Linked DNA regions of Homo sapiens: regions 2, 3 and 4 are each linked to region 1. The links are contacts of gene promoters, found by promoter capture Hi-C in blood cells and fetal thymus (Javierre and others, 2016). All regions are on one chromosome and are shown on one strand. The core of a region is centred on a gene start or on the middle of the fragment in contact, and the rest is flanking DNA. Distances in the headings are between cores, read along the strand shown.

Evidence for each region. Contacts are between HindIII fragments. The CHiCAGO score rates a contact against its expected background, and 5 or more counts as called.
Region 2: a contact is called between a fragment that was not itself captured here and the fragment with the promoter of FMNL2 in region 1, in 5 of 17 cell types (M2 macrophages, M0 macrophages, endothelial precursors and 2 more). The highest score is 8.9, in M2 macrophages.
Region 3: a contact is called between a fragment that was not itself captured here and the fragment with the promoter of FMNL2 in region 1, in 4 of 17 cell types (M1 macrophages, endothelial precursors, M0 macrophages and 1 more). The highest score is 17.7, in M1 macrophages.
Region 4: a contact is called between a fragment that was not itself captured here and the fragment with the promoter of FMNL2 in region 1, in 5 of 17 cell types (M2 macrophages, M0 macrophages, M1 macrophages and 2 more). The highest score is 11.3, in M2 macrophages.

Annotation. Positions count from the first base shown.
Region 1 is chr2:152,333,155-152,336,904 of GRCh38, reverse strand. It overlaps FMNL2 (formin like 2), which reads right to left and starts at 1,731. Exons shown (of 26, transcript NM_052905.4): 1 at 1,185-1,731. The coding sequence starts at 1,301. RefSeq lists silencers at 672-771, 1,282-1,931. The HindIII fragment of the contact is 3,556 bases long and covers 1-2,773 here.
Region 2 is chr2:152,484,141-152,487,890 of GRCh38, reverse strand. The region is part of intron 1 of FMNL2 (formin like 2); the gene reads right to left. Among named protein-coding and RNA genes, the nearest start is that of FMNL2, 150 kb to the right of the region's middle. The HindIII fragment of the contact is 410 bases long and covers 1,605-2,014 here.
Region 3 is chr2:152,190,801-152,194,550 of GRCh38, reverse strand. No RefSeq gene overlaps it. Among named protein-coding and RNA genes, the nearest start is that of STAM2, 17 kb to the right of the region's middle. The HindIII fragment of the contact is 3,230 bases long and covers 372-3,601 here.
Region 4 is chr2:152,463,961-152,467,710 of GRCh38, reverse strand. The region is part of intron 1 of FMNL2 (formin like 2); the gene reads right to left. Among named protein-coding and RNA genes, the nearest start is that of FMNL2, 130 kb to the right of the region's middle. The HindIII fragment of the contact is 2,621 bases long and covers 707-3,327 here.

The sequences.
Region 1 (3,750 bases), core at 482-2,981:
CATGAAAACAAAAGAAGAAAAGAAAACCCGCAGGCAGGCACAATCGTTGGCTGCCCGGATCACGAGTTTCCCTTGCTGCCTAGTCTTGTGGAGTTTAGAGGTAACCAACTAGGAAAAGAGAAGTGTCCAAGTGTCAGGAGTAGGAATGAGCCCAATCTCGCCTGTGTGTGTCCCTCCCAACATCCCTTAGAAGAGGCTGGGACACTAAAACTGGTAGTCTGGGGGACCAACAGCAGTCCAGATCCTGGCTGGGGCAAGCCGCCACACCCTCTGCAGCTCACAGCACAAGCCTCGGCTGGGAGGGGCCCAGACACTGTCCCAGCAGGAAAGGGAGAAAGAGGGGAGTTTTCAGAGTCCTGGATTTGAGGAGCTGGAAAGCTGGGAGAAGCGGAATGCAGGAGGGAGCGGGGGACCTGGCTGGGCGTGCAAGAGGAGGGGAGGGGTCGCCCGTGCAGTCAGGACAGCTCGCAACACGTCCCCGCAAAACTCCACATTTTTGTGGTTTAAGATTTAAGTCTAGAGGGAACGCGCTGAGGTTCTCCCCGGCCTGGGTTTCAGATGCCCCTGCTCCTCGCCAAGGGCCGGGGCGCCGCACTGCTGTGGGTCTCCGCTTTCCCTTTCGGGGAAGCTCCCCTTGGCCAAGCCGCGACGTGAGCCCTCCAAGTTCGCCTCCGCTCACCGCCCGGCGCGGCGCCCGCGGCCGGCCACATGCGCCCCATCTGCCGGGGACTTCGCAGGTCCCGGGCTGGCCGCCCGAGGGATGGTCCGCAGGGGCTCAGGGTGTTTTGTTTTGTTTTGTTTTGTTTTGTTTTTTTTAAAAAAAAAGCCTAAGCGGCTCGCCACCTCCTCCTCCCAGCCCGCGCCACCTTCTCTTCACGCCCACGCCGCACCTCCCGGGCACACGCGCCGTGAGGTGCCTCTCCAGCCAGACAATGGGTTCGAGGCTGGTTGGGCAGCCGGCCCTGAGCCCCCATCCCCATCCCGGGACCCCGAGAGACTGAGCGCGGGGGACTGCCAGGGGGGTGAAGAGGAGTGCTGGGGGGCCACAAAGGGGAAAGCGGGAGCCTCCCCCTCGGGAATGGAGGCTCGCTCCCGGCACGGGGTGAAGGGGAGGGGCGGGGGTCAGCTGCGCCGCCCGGCCCGGGGCCCCGGGTCCCCGCGCCCGACCGCCGCCGCGCACTTACCAGCACGATGGCAAATCGCTCCTCCAGTTCACCTGGCTCTGGCATCGGCAGCTTCAAAGGCACGTTGTGCGCCCTGAAATCGGTCTGCTGCGAATCCATGCTCCCTGCGTTGCCCATGTCGGCGGCGCGCCGGGGCCGGGGGCTGCTCCGGGCCCCTAGCGTGCGCGTCGGAAATCAGAACAGCTCCCGGCGGTCGGCTGCCGCCCGCAGGCGCGACCTGCCCGGCTCCCCGCCCTCCGCCGCGCCCAGGCGGGTGTGCGGCGCGCACCGCTCCCTAGCAGCGCTCCAAGCCGAGCCGCCCCCCGGCCTCCCTCATGCTCTCCGCCGCCCCAGCGCGGCCCCGGCCTCTTTTCCTCGGGAGGGGTAGTTGGGGCGCTGGGCGCCTATGTGCATGGTGCTCCGCTGGCACACCGCCCCCTGCCAGAGATCGCGGCCCCCGGCGCGTGGTCCCTCCTACTCGGCCTTCTGCCGGGCCCGCGGCCGCCGCTGACACTTCCAGCCCTAGCCGGCCACGGCTGCGCCTGCCTGGCTAGCACCTGGAGCAGACAAATGCAGCTCCGCGCTCCCCTACACAATGCCACCTCTCGCCCGGCGCCCGGCCCCCGCCCCCGGCCCGGCTCCGCCCACTCGCCCCGCGGACTGCCGGGACGCGTAGTTTCTCTCCAAAGTGTCCGCGCGCAGAAACCACGCCTGCTCTAGAGCGCCAGGCCGGGTTGGGACCATTTGCAGCAAAGGCGATCCGTAGTCTCTGGAGATAGCATATTGTCACTTTTGACCCTCCTCACCCCAACAGTGGAATACTTACATCGTGTATATCATGTTGACACTTGGTAGGCGGGTCTGACCATGACGGAATCGAATCAATGAATGAAGGAATGCATGCCTTCTGATTAAAATTCAGAAAATCGTTGCTGTTTTTAAAAGATCTAGTTCAGTAAGGAACTTCGAAAGCACTGGCAAAGTTCTGTTTCATAAACGGGGGGGTGGGTCCATGGGTGCTTGTTTATCGTTCTTTCTTCCATATATATGTTCTTTGGTGTGATTGAAATGTTTTATAAACAGATGTATAATTTATGGGTATATATAGTCAGACCCTAGGAGCTAGGTAAGGATTCAATTCAATTTAAAAAAAAAACCTGTCAAACACCTATTATGTATGGGATATTGTGTTCCTTGGTGGGAGAAAAAAGAGATTTGCCCTGCGCTGGAATACTTGCCAATCTAGTGAAGGAAAAAATGTACACACCCATATTTCATGTGAGATGGATATAATGATAGAGTGTTCTGGGAGACTTTGGGATGATCTTTGGCTGCAGCTCTCTTATTCCTTCACAGCAGTCTTGAGCAAGGTGTCTTACAGAAAAGATTGGACCTGACTCTGTCCTCTGGGGTGTATTTCAGACTATAACTACCCGTTCTGAAACCTCGGAAATAGAAATAGCCTTATAAGAGACTTTAGCCAACTGCTCATGTGAATGTTAAGGGCATACATCTGGTTGACTTGTGGCTGAACTTCTGCAGTTAGTCCTTTCTTAGTTTAAAGCAGTGTTTCTTAATCCTAGATGTGTATCAGATTCGCTTGGGAAGCTTTTTGTTAAAACTACACACACCTTGGGCTCTGCGTATTATCAGAATCTCCCTAAGCTGAGAGCCGAAGCCTGGGCCGGTGTATTTTCAACAAGCTCCCCAGGTGATTTTGATATGCAGGTAAGGTTGTTATCCTTTTAGTAAATAGCAAGTGTTTCTGGACAAGGTAGTACACCAAGATTCAATCAAGGACATTTCATTCATCTTTATAAACTTCAAGATACTTTAAACATAGTAGACGCCCAAGAACTATTTGTGGAATTGACAAGTGACTTTTTCCAAAAGCATATGACACAAATACACACAAATACATCATGTATGTTCTATTAAACCACTTCTAGTCTTTAAAGAATGGAGACAGTATAAATAAATTCAACTTAAAATTCTGAATAACTGTAACCTGTATTTCTAAAGCAGTGTTGTATCAAAGTTAATAGCAAATGTGTTACTGATCTGAGAGAAAAGCAGGGCGGTTTAGATACACACACACTCCAAACTAATGAAAATGAGAGAGAAAGAAAGCAGTTCGGACCAGGTGAAACATTTCTGACCCACAAATGTATTTATTTCCTTGTAATCTCTAGACATATACTTTGGATCTGATTGACTCACAAAATCAGCCCACCCAGAGGGTTGCCCATCTGGATAAAAAAGGCTGGAATTCTTTTCTGCAGTTGAGAAAGCCTTTTTGATTACATTTATGTCTCCCTGCGGCTATATTTCTGCCAGTAACCAAGACCTTTTTCTCCCCTTACGTCTTATCACATCTAGTCTCTCTCATAAGCTCACACTTCGAGGGAAGCCAAGGAAAAAGTGTGCAAATCTATGAACCAAAAGAACTTTCCTGCCATTTCAATGTTTGGAATCTCTAATATTTGGTTGTTATTTGTGATTATTAAGAGGAGAAATAAACACTCCATAGGCTTGTACAATTTCTATAAGAATCCATCAAAATCTTAGGAAATTCTTTGCGGGGAGA
Region 2 (3,750 bases), core at 560-3,059, 150 kb before region 1:
ACTTGAACCCAGGAGATGGAGGTTGCAGTGAGCCAAGATCACACCACTGCACTCCAGCCTGGGCAACAGAGTGAGACTGTGTCTCAAAAAGGAAAAAAAAAAAAAAGAAAGAATTCATCTAAAAGTGTTTTATTATATTTCAAACACACATAACTATAAAGACTATAATGCATTCCCTATAAACCTAGACCCATTTCTTATCAAATCTTACCCTTTGCCACATTTTCTTCAGGTTTTTTCACATACATTTTAAAGATGTTTTTTAATGGTCACAGTATGGCTAACTCAAGAACTAAGGGAAGAAACCATTGGAAATTGGTTCCACTTTTAAGTTAAAAATCTAGACTATAAATTATTCTTAGCTTACTTCCTAATAATTTTAGTTTTCGCCGATATCATTGATAGATAATGTAAAATTTCTACCTTTACTTGGAGACACTAAACTCTTAGCAACATATTTGTAAGTCAGTATTAGGTTTTATCTTTTAGATGGAATTAAAGCAGTCCTTTCACCTAAGTTCCCTACCTATGTTCAAGAAAAATTTCTGAGTTTTTGTTATCTATAACTTATGATTGATGAAAATAATAGTACTTTTACTTCTGGCATTAAATTTATTTTTAAGTACTGAGTGCAAAACAAAGAAGTTGGAAAGTTTACAAAAATTTCAAACAAGGAAATCAGAACTGCTGTGACCACAAAGTCCCTTAGGGACAAGTTTTCATTGCTGTAGAATATAAGATTTATGTGAAGGTTATCAGAGGTTAATACACTTATGCTGGTCTCATTACTGATATTACAAAACTGCCTAACATGGTATATGAAGAACACAGAGTATATACTCAATAAATATTTGTGGGATCCATATATTGTCTGGATTATGCAAAAGAGCCAACCCAACTGCCTATTAAATTAATATAACTTGACTTTAACACACACAGAAGAAAACTAAATATTTTAAGTTAAGCAATTTACTAACGGCTCATTTCTGTTATATTTTGCTAGAATATTCCTAAACCCTCAAATAGTAGGATTACGTAACTAACAAGGCCTACTGATGCAGGGCATGTTACGATAGCTTTTTTATTCTGAATCTGATAAAGATACAAGAAAACAAAATTACACAGAAAAATTTATTCTTCCCCCCAGAAAACAACTTAGAGAACTTAGCAGCCACGTTCAAGCCTCTTAATCCTCTGAAGAAAGTAAAGCCTGAATAACAAGCTTCATAACTCAAGGATGTTCCAAAGCACTGTTACGGACTAACTCAATGAAACATTAACTTATTTTCAAGATCTTAACATCTGAATTCCAAAAGCCAAAGGAAGAAAGTGAATAAGAAGGGTTGAGAAAAGGAAAGTGTTTAACCTTCCATTTAAAAGAAAATTCAACCAGAAACTGTCTTTTCTCCAAGTAATCCTAGTTAATTGAGGTTTTATTGTACAGTAGTTCACATAACCCCAAAGAAATATTTCCAGGTCAAAATGCTTATAGCCCAGTCCCCAGTTGTCTATTAACCAACCCAGCTATGTAAATAGCTCCTGAAAGAATCGTATATTGTTAGGAACATAAAAAGTTCTCCTTTAACAGAGGGTAGCAGGAAGCTTAAGTCTTGTGACACACAAAAGCATGCAGTGTGGCACGGGAACTTCCCGTAAATTACATTAACTTTACAGCGATTTCTTTTGCTGATTCAAGAAAGAGAGCAAATACCAAAGAGCTGAAAGGTGACAAGAATATCCTGACACAGACTTGTTCAGGATAACAATCCACTTGAGCTCAGTTCCCAGTAACCATGGGGACTAGCATGATCCGTTGCTATCTATTTATCTTAGGCCTCAAGATACCCAAGTTCTGGTCCTTTCCATGAAATCAAGCAATTATTCTCGGAGATGAGAAGTTTGCCAATTATACAATAAAATCCTCCTCTAAATATTCTTTTTCAGAAATTGCACGCTCCTCCCATGTCCCTGCACAGCCTGAGGTGTGGTTTAATAAGCAATTTTGTTAAAAGCTTTCTTTTGGCAGTGAAATCACTAAGCTTTCTCTTCAAACTATTCTTTACCTGTAGAATGAGAGGGGATGCAGTCTCTATTCTGCTACAATTGCTAGGCGAAATGGAGATGCCGCTAGCACAGAACAATACCCTTCTTCAAGGAGAATCACTGGCTTTCACCTTCATGGAGTACTCCTCCCATATTTATGTTAAAACATTCGATTTTTTAAATGTATAATGTTGGAATGAAGGACACATTTTCAGTTTTCAAAGAACCATCAGATAAATTGTCAACACACACACACACAAAACCAGTTAGAGGTTGAAAACTATATCTATCTATCTATCTATGACAGGCAGAGAGTCTTACTCTGTCCCCCAGGCTGGAGTGCAGTGGCACAATCACGGCTCAACCTCCTGGGCTCAAGCGATCCTCCCACTTCAGCCTCCCGAGTAGCTGGGACCACAGGTGTGCACCACCAGGTTCAAGCGATTCTCCTGCCTCAGCCTTCCAAGTAGCTGGGACTACAGGTGCACACCACCATGCCTGGCTAATTTTTGTATTTTTAGTAGAGACGGGGTTTCATCATGTTGGCCAGGATGGTCTTGATCTCTTGACCTCGTGATCTGCCCGCCTTGGCCTCCCAAAGTGCTGGGATTACAGGCGTGAGCCACCGTGCCCGGCCATGCATGGCTAATTTTTAACATTATTTTGTAGACATCAGGTCTCACTGTGTTGCCCAGAATGATCTCAAACTTCTAAGCTCATGCAATCCTCCCACCTTGGACTCCCAAAGTGCTGGGAGCCACCATGCCCAGCCCCAGAATATTTTTAAATTACAGAATAATTTTAAAAGTTAAAAGTATAAAATAACAAGCATCAAATGCCATCTATTCTTCTACCACTGGTGAACAACCTTGAAAATGACCACGTCTCATATACAAGAGCTACTGTGAACACCCAAGAACATTGCTACACACAGCTTTTTCCCAAGACAGGAACCATTAATGCACCAGACACTCCCCAATCCCTAAGAGCATCTTTTATTCTTTCGCAAAGTTCATCTCTTCTGTATCACTGTTTACAGCCCAAATCCTAAAGCCATTGATAGCTCTCTTTTCATTTTATGTTTTAGAGACAGGGTCTCACTCTGTCACCCAGGCTGGAGTGCAGGGGCACCATCATGGCTCACTGTAATCTCAAACTCCTGGGTTCAAGTGATCCTCCCATCTCAGCCTCCTGAGTAGCTGGGACTACCCACCATGCTCGGCTAATTTTTTAAGTTTTTTATAGAGATGAGGTCTCATGCTGCCCAGGATGGTCTCAAACTCCTGGGCTCAACTGAATACTTCTGCCTCAGCCTCCTGTGTAGCTAGAACTTTGGGTAGGCACCACCACTTCCAGCTATTTTTTTTTTTTCAAGAGACACAGTCTTGCTGTATTGGCCAGGCTGCTCTCAAACTCATGGCCTCAAGTGATCCTCCTACCTCAGCCTCCCAAAGTGCTGGAATTACAGGCAAAGCTATTGCACTTGGCCCAATATCTCTCTTTTAAACTAGTCCTGTTCATTGAGAAAATGGCACCATAGACTTTTTAAATTATGTAAGCAAGAAAAAAGGTGCTGAGTCCCAAGACCTTGGACTGAGGCAAATATTTAAAGTAATTTTGTAAATGTTAGGTATCTGATGAAAAAACTGAGACATTCTGGAATTGCACACCAGTGACTCTGTTATAATTCAGCATGGGAGGGAGGAA
Region 3 (3,750 bases), core at 737-3,236, 140 kb after region 1:
GTGTCTTTGCACATGAGATGGGTCTCCTGAATACAGCATACCAGTTGGTCTTGACTCTATCTAGTTTGCCAGTCCATGTCTTTTAATTGGGGCATTAAGCCCATTTACATTTAAGGTTAATATTGTTATGTGTGAATTTGATCCTGTCATTATAATGCTAGCTGGTTATTTTGCCCATTAGTTGATGCAGTTTCTTCATAGTGTCGATGGTCTTTACAATTTGGTATGTTTTTGTAGTGGCTGGTACCAGTTTTTCCTTTCCATATTTAGTGCTTCCTTCAGAGCTCTTGTAAGGCTGGCCTGGTGGTGACAAAATATCTCAGCATTTGCTTGTCTGTAAATGATTTTATTTCTCCTTCGCTTATGAAGCTTAGTCTGGCTGGATATGAAATTCTGGGTTGAAAATTCTTTTCTTTAAGAATGTTGAGGCTGAGCGTGGTGGCTCACACCTGTAATCCCAGTACTTTGGGAGGCTGAGGCAGGTGGATCACGAAGTCAGGAGCTCGAGACCAGTCTGGCCAATATGGTGAAACCCCGTCTCTACTAAAAATAGAAAAATTAGCCAGGCAGGGTGTTGCGTGCCTGTAGTCCCAGCTACTCGGGAGGCTGAGGCAGAAGAATCGCTTGAACCCAGGAGGTGGAGGTTCAGTGAGCTGAGATCACGCCACTGTACTACAGCCTGGGTGACAGGGTGAGCCTCCGCCTCAAAAAAAAAAAAGAAGGTTGAATATTGGCCCCCACTATCTTCTGGCTTGCAGGGTTTCTGCTAAGAGATCCACTGTTAGTTTGACAGGCTTCCCTTTGTGGGTAACCTGACCTTTCTCTCTGGCTGCCCTTAACATTTTTTCCTCCATTTCAACCTTGGTGAATCTGACGATTGTGTGTCTTGGGGTTGCTCTTCTCGAGGAGTATCTTTGTGGTGTTCTCTGTATTTCCTGAATTTGAATGTTGGTCTGTCTTGCTAAGTTGGGGAAGTTCTCCTGGATAATATCCTGAAGAGTGTTTTCCAACTTGGTTCCATTCTCCCCATCACTGAGGTTAGGTCTTTTCACATAGTCCCATATTTCTTGGAGGCTTTGTTCATTCCTTTTCATTCTTTTTTTTCTAATCTTGTCTTCATGCTTTATTTCATTTAGTTGATCTTATACCAGATATATTTCGAACCCCTTCCTTTTATTAACTCTGTTAATCCCCGTATTTGTTTTACCTCTTTGAACTCTTCTCATTCATCAAAGACTGAACTCAAAGCTCCTCTCTACTTTGAAGCCTTCCCTGACTAATAATTTGGTATTTAACTAATCATACAAGGTTTTGCAACACCACTTGAATTATTGTTCGGTGTTATTTCTCTTTCCATTGGTGTAAACCCTGTCTCTCCAACTATAGTGTCCATTTCTTAAGATCAGCAACCTCATTTTATACTGTTTGATGCTATTCTTATCTTCCAGAGTGTCTGTCTTTACTCTCTGCAGGTGTATAAACCTGCAGCATCCCTCCGGAAAAAGCCTCTAGTTTCTTGCCCTGTCTTGTCTCATACTAGTTTGCCAGCCTGCTCTTTGTCTCCTTGCTCTTGACTTGTTGACCAGTCTTCTTTCTGTAGTCTTTCCCTCTGGACTAGACAGATGCCTACTTTTGCTTCTTTGGTGCTGCCCTTGCCTCTACTTCTCAGCAAGAGTCTGCACTTGTTCCTCAGATCACATTTCTACTGGCTCCTGCACATCTCCTGAGATCTTTCCTCAACTTTCCTTTGAGTTGTGGGAAGGGTAAAACAGACACAAGGCTCTGATTATTGTAGACCTTGTATACATGTCTGTAAAATTATAGCTTCAAAGTCCTTTGAGTCATATTGTTTCCAGTGATTCGAAATCATTTATACTTGATTGTGTTGCTTAAAAAATCAGGCCGGGCACACACCTGTAATCCCAGGACTTTGGGAGGCCAAGGCAGGAGGATCACTTGAGCCTAGGAGTTCCAAAACCAGCCTGAGCAACACAGTGAGAACGTATCTCCACACACACACAAAAAAAAGTTTAAAATTAATTGACCAGCCATGGTGGCACATGCCAGTAGTCCCAGACACACAGGAAGCTGAGGTGGGAGGACTGCTTGAGCCCAGGAGGTTGAGGCTGCAGTGACCCATGATCGCGTCACTGCGCTCCAGTCCTGGTGACAGAGCAAGAGCCTGTCTCAAAAAAAAAAAAAAAGTTAAATGCTCTGAAGAGCCTCTTCTGTGTTCCACTCTCTTTGCATGTCTTAAGAACATTAAGATAATTTGTGAAAAATATCTAAACACTTTGTTTTCATTGTCTTGCATGTCATGCAAATCTTTGCATAAAAAAACCTGAAAAGCCATCTCAATGTTGTTTGATTTGGCTAAATGAGTGGTACTGGACAGATTATTATGAAACAGATATTAACACCTCATGTCGTCATAACTAAAAAGTGTCAACTACAGATTATGGTGGAGTACTTTAAAACTATCCTTTTCTTAGCTCTGGCCCAATATCACAGCCTGATTTGTATTATAGTTAGATTAGATGTAGTCAAAAGGCTTTTGAAAAAAGGTATTTGGGAACTAGCTAAAGCAGAGATATATTTTTCATTTGTCTTGTTTGTTTGTTTTGTTCCGTTTTGTTTTCAAGACACAGTCTTGCTCTGACATCGTTGCTTGAGTGCAGTGGCATGATCTTGGCTCACTACAACCTCCTGGGTTCAAGTGATTCTTATGCTTCAGCCACCCCAGTAGCTGGGACTACAGGCACATACCATCCCACCTGGCTAATTTTTATATTTTTAGTAGAGACGGGTTTTCACCATGTTGGCTAGGCTGGTCTCGAACTCCTGGCCTCAAATGATCCTCCCATCTTGGCTTCCCAAAGTGCTGGGATTACAGGCATTAGCCATTGTGCAGGGCCCATTTTTCTTTTTTTTTAAGCCTCCAGATCCCTTTATGAACACAAAAATCACAAACATTTTATTTTCTAACTGAAGCCAGAACAGGGAATACATGTGTTGAGTATTTGTGTGGTAAAGTCATTCATTTGTTACACTTAGGGTTTCATTTTGCCATTTCTCTAACCAGGGATGGGCCTGGATTCTACTAAGGTGCTAATGAATTTACAAAGCAATGGTTGTTCTCATTTTGAGTAAGTGGAATAAGGAAGATGGAATATGGAATCTTATGACTGAAGGTTAGTCCTAATGGAGTAATTTTGTTGTGTATTAAGATTCGCAAACAGGATATTTAGGTGAATACAGCAATGTACTTAATTCCATGTGACATCTGCTTTCAGCATCTCAGGTTTGGCTCTACCACAGACCATGGAGATGCTTTGTTGAAAAACACTGTCCTCTATTTTTTCCTAGCAACTCATTACGTATATATCATCTATACATTGATCTTAATATTCTTTGAAATTAGCTGGATGCAGTGGCTCACACCTGTAATCCCAACACTTTGGGAGGTCAAGACAGGAGGATTGCTGGAGCCCAGGAGTTTCAGACCAGCCTGGACAACATAGTGAGATGTTGTCTCTACCAAAAAATTAAAAAATTGTCTATTTAGTATATATTTAGTATATAAGCCATTTTAAAAGAAGCTTTAGGCCGGGCACGGTGGCTCGCGCCTGTAATCCCAGCACTTTGGGAGGCTGACGTGGGCAGATCATGAGGTCAGGAGTTCGAGACCAGACTGGCTGATATGGTGAAACCCTGTCTCTACTAAAAATACAAAAATTAGCCAGACGTGAT
Region 4 (3,750 bases), core at 768-3,267, 130 kb before region 1:
CTGATAAAGTCCACAGCGAGCTCACTATGAAGATGGCAATCAGAATTAACCCTATATCATTTACATCCTCCACAAACAAAATAATACAAGCACAGACAGTTCCTTAAACAGCATATACTATCCAAACGAGTGCACGGCATCAAAAGATGCAGCGTAACTACACAGGATGAGCTGCTGGTAAAGTCAGCAGCATTCACAGGGGAAAAGCTCTGTCAGCCTTCGATTTGTAGGAAACAGGGGCCGAGGGAAGAAGCAGGAGGCAGGAGAGTGGGGTGAAGTACCCGTTAACAAACGGGACAAGCAAGATTCCTAGTGTAAGCACATACGGTATTTATTAAGTTTGAGGAGTCTGGTTACATCTATTTTGAGATTTGTGTGTTTCATTTCAGTTTGCCAAAGGAATGACAATCCAACAAGAATTACTGAACAGGTTCAGCACGTAGAGGAATATGTTGGCACTTCCAAGAAAAAAGAATAAGGTGCTGGGGTAGATGGTAAACAAGCAAGATCCAGCTCTTGTCAGAAAAAAAAGAGCCAAATGACCAGCAAGAAAGGAGAAGTGAGATTCTGCCCAGGAAACGGGGCTTACTCAAGAGTTAAGGTAAGGCAGTGTCAGAAACACAGTGAAGCAAGCCAAGAACACTAAGGCTTGCCTCATTGTAGGAGTAGCTGTACCTCACTCAGCCCTCTGGCTATAAGTGAAGCTTCCCAGACTGGAGGAGGCAGGAAGAAGGAAGAATATTTCACAGCCTCAAATCTTCAGGGACAAAATCGGTGCAGGCTTATTAGGAAGAGAAGCGGCAAGCCTTAGAACACCAACCAAAAATCCATAGAAAGACATGATTTTATTGCTGGCATCCCACTCACAGCACTTCACGGGGACTGCAGAGGCTGCCATGTTTCTTTGGATCTAGTTGAGAGAGGAAGACAACTCACTTGATAAAGTACAAGGAGAGCTAAGTTCAGAAATGCCATATTTAAAGGGCAGTATATGCCACCGTCTTCTCCCCCTGCTCCTTAATACTAAGGAAAGCCTGAGGGATCTTATGAAGGAAGACAAAGGAAGTCCAGTGTTAATAGGATGGTCTTTTGCCATTTTTGTTTCATGAGATGACTTCAGCTCAACTCTCCTTCAAACCCAATTACTAGCCAGGCTCTGATTTTGACTACTCAAATCCAAAGTGGCCCACATTATATCCACCAACAATTAGATATACTACAATGATGACTGGGGATAAGGGGGCTATAAGTGGTTAAGGAGGAAGAAGAGAATTCCAGATACTTCTTTGAAGTTAGCTCAGTTTAAGAAAACTTTAAAGAGAAACAAATAAAGACAGAAAAGAAAGAAATTTTACTAGTAGTGGAAAACATTTTCTTCAAAGATAAGGTGGTTTACAAAACGCCAATGAGTCACCCAGAGGCCAGTGCAGCCCAGACCCATCAGGGGCATGTCCTCCCCCGCAGCGGGCAGGAGGGCACACGTGGTGTCCGGATGGAGGCGCCAAGTGACAGGGTTCAGACAGTCCTCACACTATAAAGTGCTGCATGGTTTACCACACCTGCTATATGCTCTCTTGAGTCTCCTAACCAGTCTCCTTATTTGCCTGTTAGGAAACCATGGCTCAGAAAGATCAAGATCATCTTATTAGTTAAGGTAAAATCAAGATTAGACCTCAAATTTCCCAAATCCTAGTCCAGTGCTTCTTCCCACAACATTAAGTTGCTTCCTGAAAATAACCAACCATAATTCTCCACTTAGCAACCTTTCTAGCAACTTTCTGGTCCTGGTCATAAACTCTCACCTCCACCATAAACTGATGCTTTTATCAGGGATATTCTATCACATCTCCATGTTCCCAAAACAGAAAGGAAGTTTTAGGGAACCCCTTTCCTTTGCTCTAGGCGCAAGCCCACAGGTGCCCTCGAGGCAAAGTGCTAAGATAAGTGTGTTGACATCATTTTCCCATGGAAGAAACCTGATCTCTCCAAAGAAAAGCCGAGTACTTCCAGTGGACAATTCTGAGCCTTCTGTTCCCCTACTTATGCCAACTGCTTAGCTTGAGCCAGATGGGGGGTGGGGATATATCCACTAACAAAATCTGGAATAATTACTGGGGTTTAAGTGCAATGTATCCTTAAAGAAACAGAAGCAAAAGCAATTAAACTATAGCACTGTACCTGGACTCACATCCAAAAGCCTCATTCAAGATACTAAAGGAGCCATTTCTCCCCTTCCCTCCATGGATTCCTTCCCTGTGCCTTTGTCCCACTTTAACCACTTTGCCCAAATAGCCCACTGACCAGGAACATCCCAGCCAAGTATTTCCAAATCTGGCTTGGTCAGCCTTCCTGCTCTCGGGCTCCTTTGAACCTCCTGCCTGCAACACACAAAATAGCACTGAATTGAGGTCTGACATGGCTCTTGTGGAGCACTCACCAACACACCAGGCTGCTTCACACCTCAGTGCCTTCGCACAGGGTGTTCTTGCCTGCACGAATGCCCTGTCCCACTAGTCAGAGGGGAGTCTTTTCAGAACTCTGCTCAACTCCCCTTCTCTATGAAGCCTCTCCGACTTTGCTGGTAGTTCACTACTTGCGCAGGGCTATGAGATCGCACTTGTTTCTTGTTGATGCTGCCATGGTAGTACTGATCCCACTGTATTACAAGTCATGGCTGAGTTCCCTGCTAAGCTGTAAGCCAAGAAGTTAGCATTCATGGCTCTTTTTAAACCTTTGTACATCTCGTGCCTAGCAGAGGGAAGCTAGATGGATGTCTAGCAATCAGGTCATCTCCCCTTCTCAATAAGATTCCTGAGGACAGAGATTAGGGCAATTTTTTGGTATCCCCCACAGAACCCTCCACTTCGCTAAGCACAAATGTCAAAGGCATCAACAGCAACAACATGCACACAGTAGCTTATTTCTCTGAGAAATAGGACAAGCATTCCCAGGGAGGCTCTGAGGAAAATGCTTTCAACTTTACCCAACTAGAGGATTTAGCGTCTGAGCCTCCTCCTCACACGCTGATCTGTTTCCACTTCATTTGTGCTAACTCATTTTACACTCAATCTAGTCTACACTGAGATCCAAGGTTATCCTCTGGGGCAAGGACAGTGAAATGGAAATTACAAAAGCTCATCAACAGACAAATGCTGGGAGAAAACATCTTGAACGTGTACTCTGCTCCCTTCTCCCCCAAACAATTTCACTGGAGTGGACAAATTTCAGTCCATCAGGGGGGTACATTCCTGAGGAGCTAGAGAGAGACCTTGGGAATTATCACACCCTGAAGAGTGGAAGCCAAACAAGAAATTTCTGCACTAAGCTTTTAGAAAAATAAGGCTAAAAAGAGAACATGTTTAAAGCCAGCCAAAGGAGTTAAGAATAACAAACAAACCCACCATTCTATTTGTTGGCACCCACAGAAAAGCAGAGGAGGAAGATACATTTGAAAATTAACCATCAGTGGCTGAGTGCGGGGGCTCACACCTGTAATCCCAGCACTTTGGGAGGCCAAGGTCGGCGGATCACCTGAGGTCAGGAGTTCAAGACCAGATTGGTCAACGTGGTGAAACCCTGTCTCTACTAAAAATACCAAAAAAAATAAAAAATTAGCCAGGCATCGTTGCATATGCCTGTAAACCCAGCTACTCAGGAGACTGAGGCAGGAGAATCGCTTGAACCTGCGAGTCAGAGGTTGCAGTGAGCCAAGACTGCACCATTGCACTCCAGCTTGGGTGATAGAGCGAG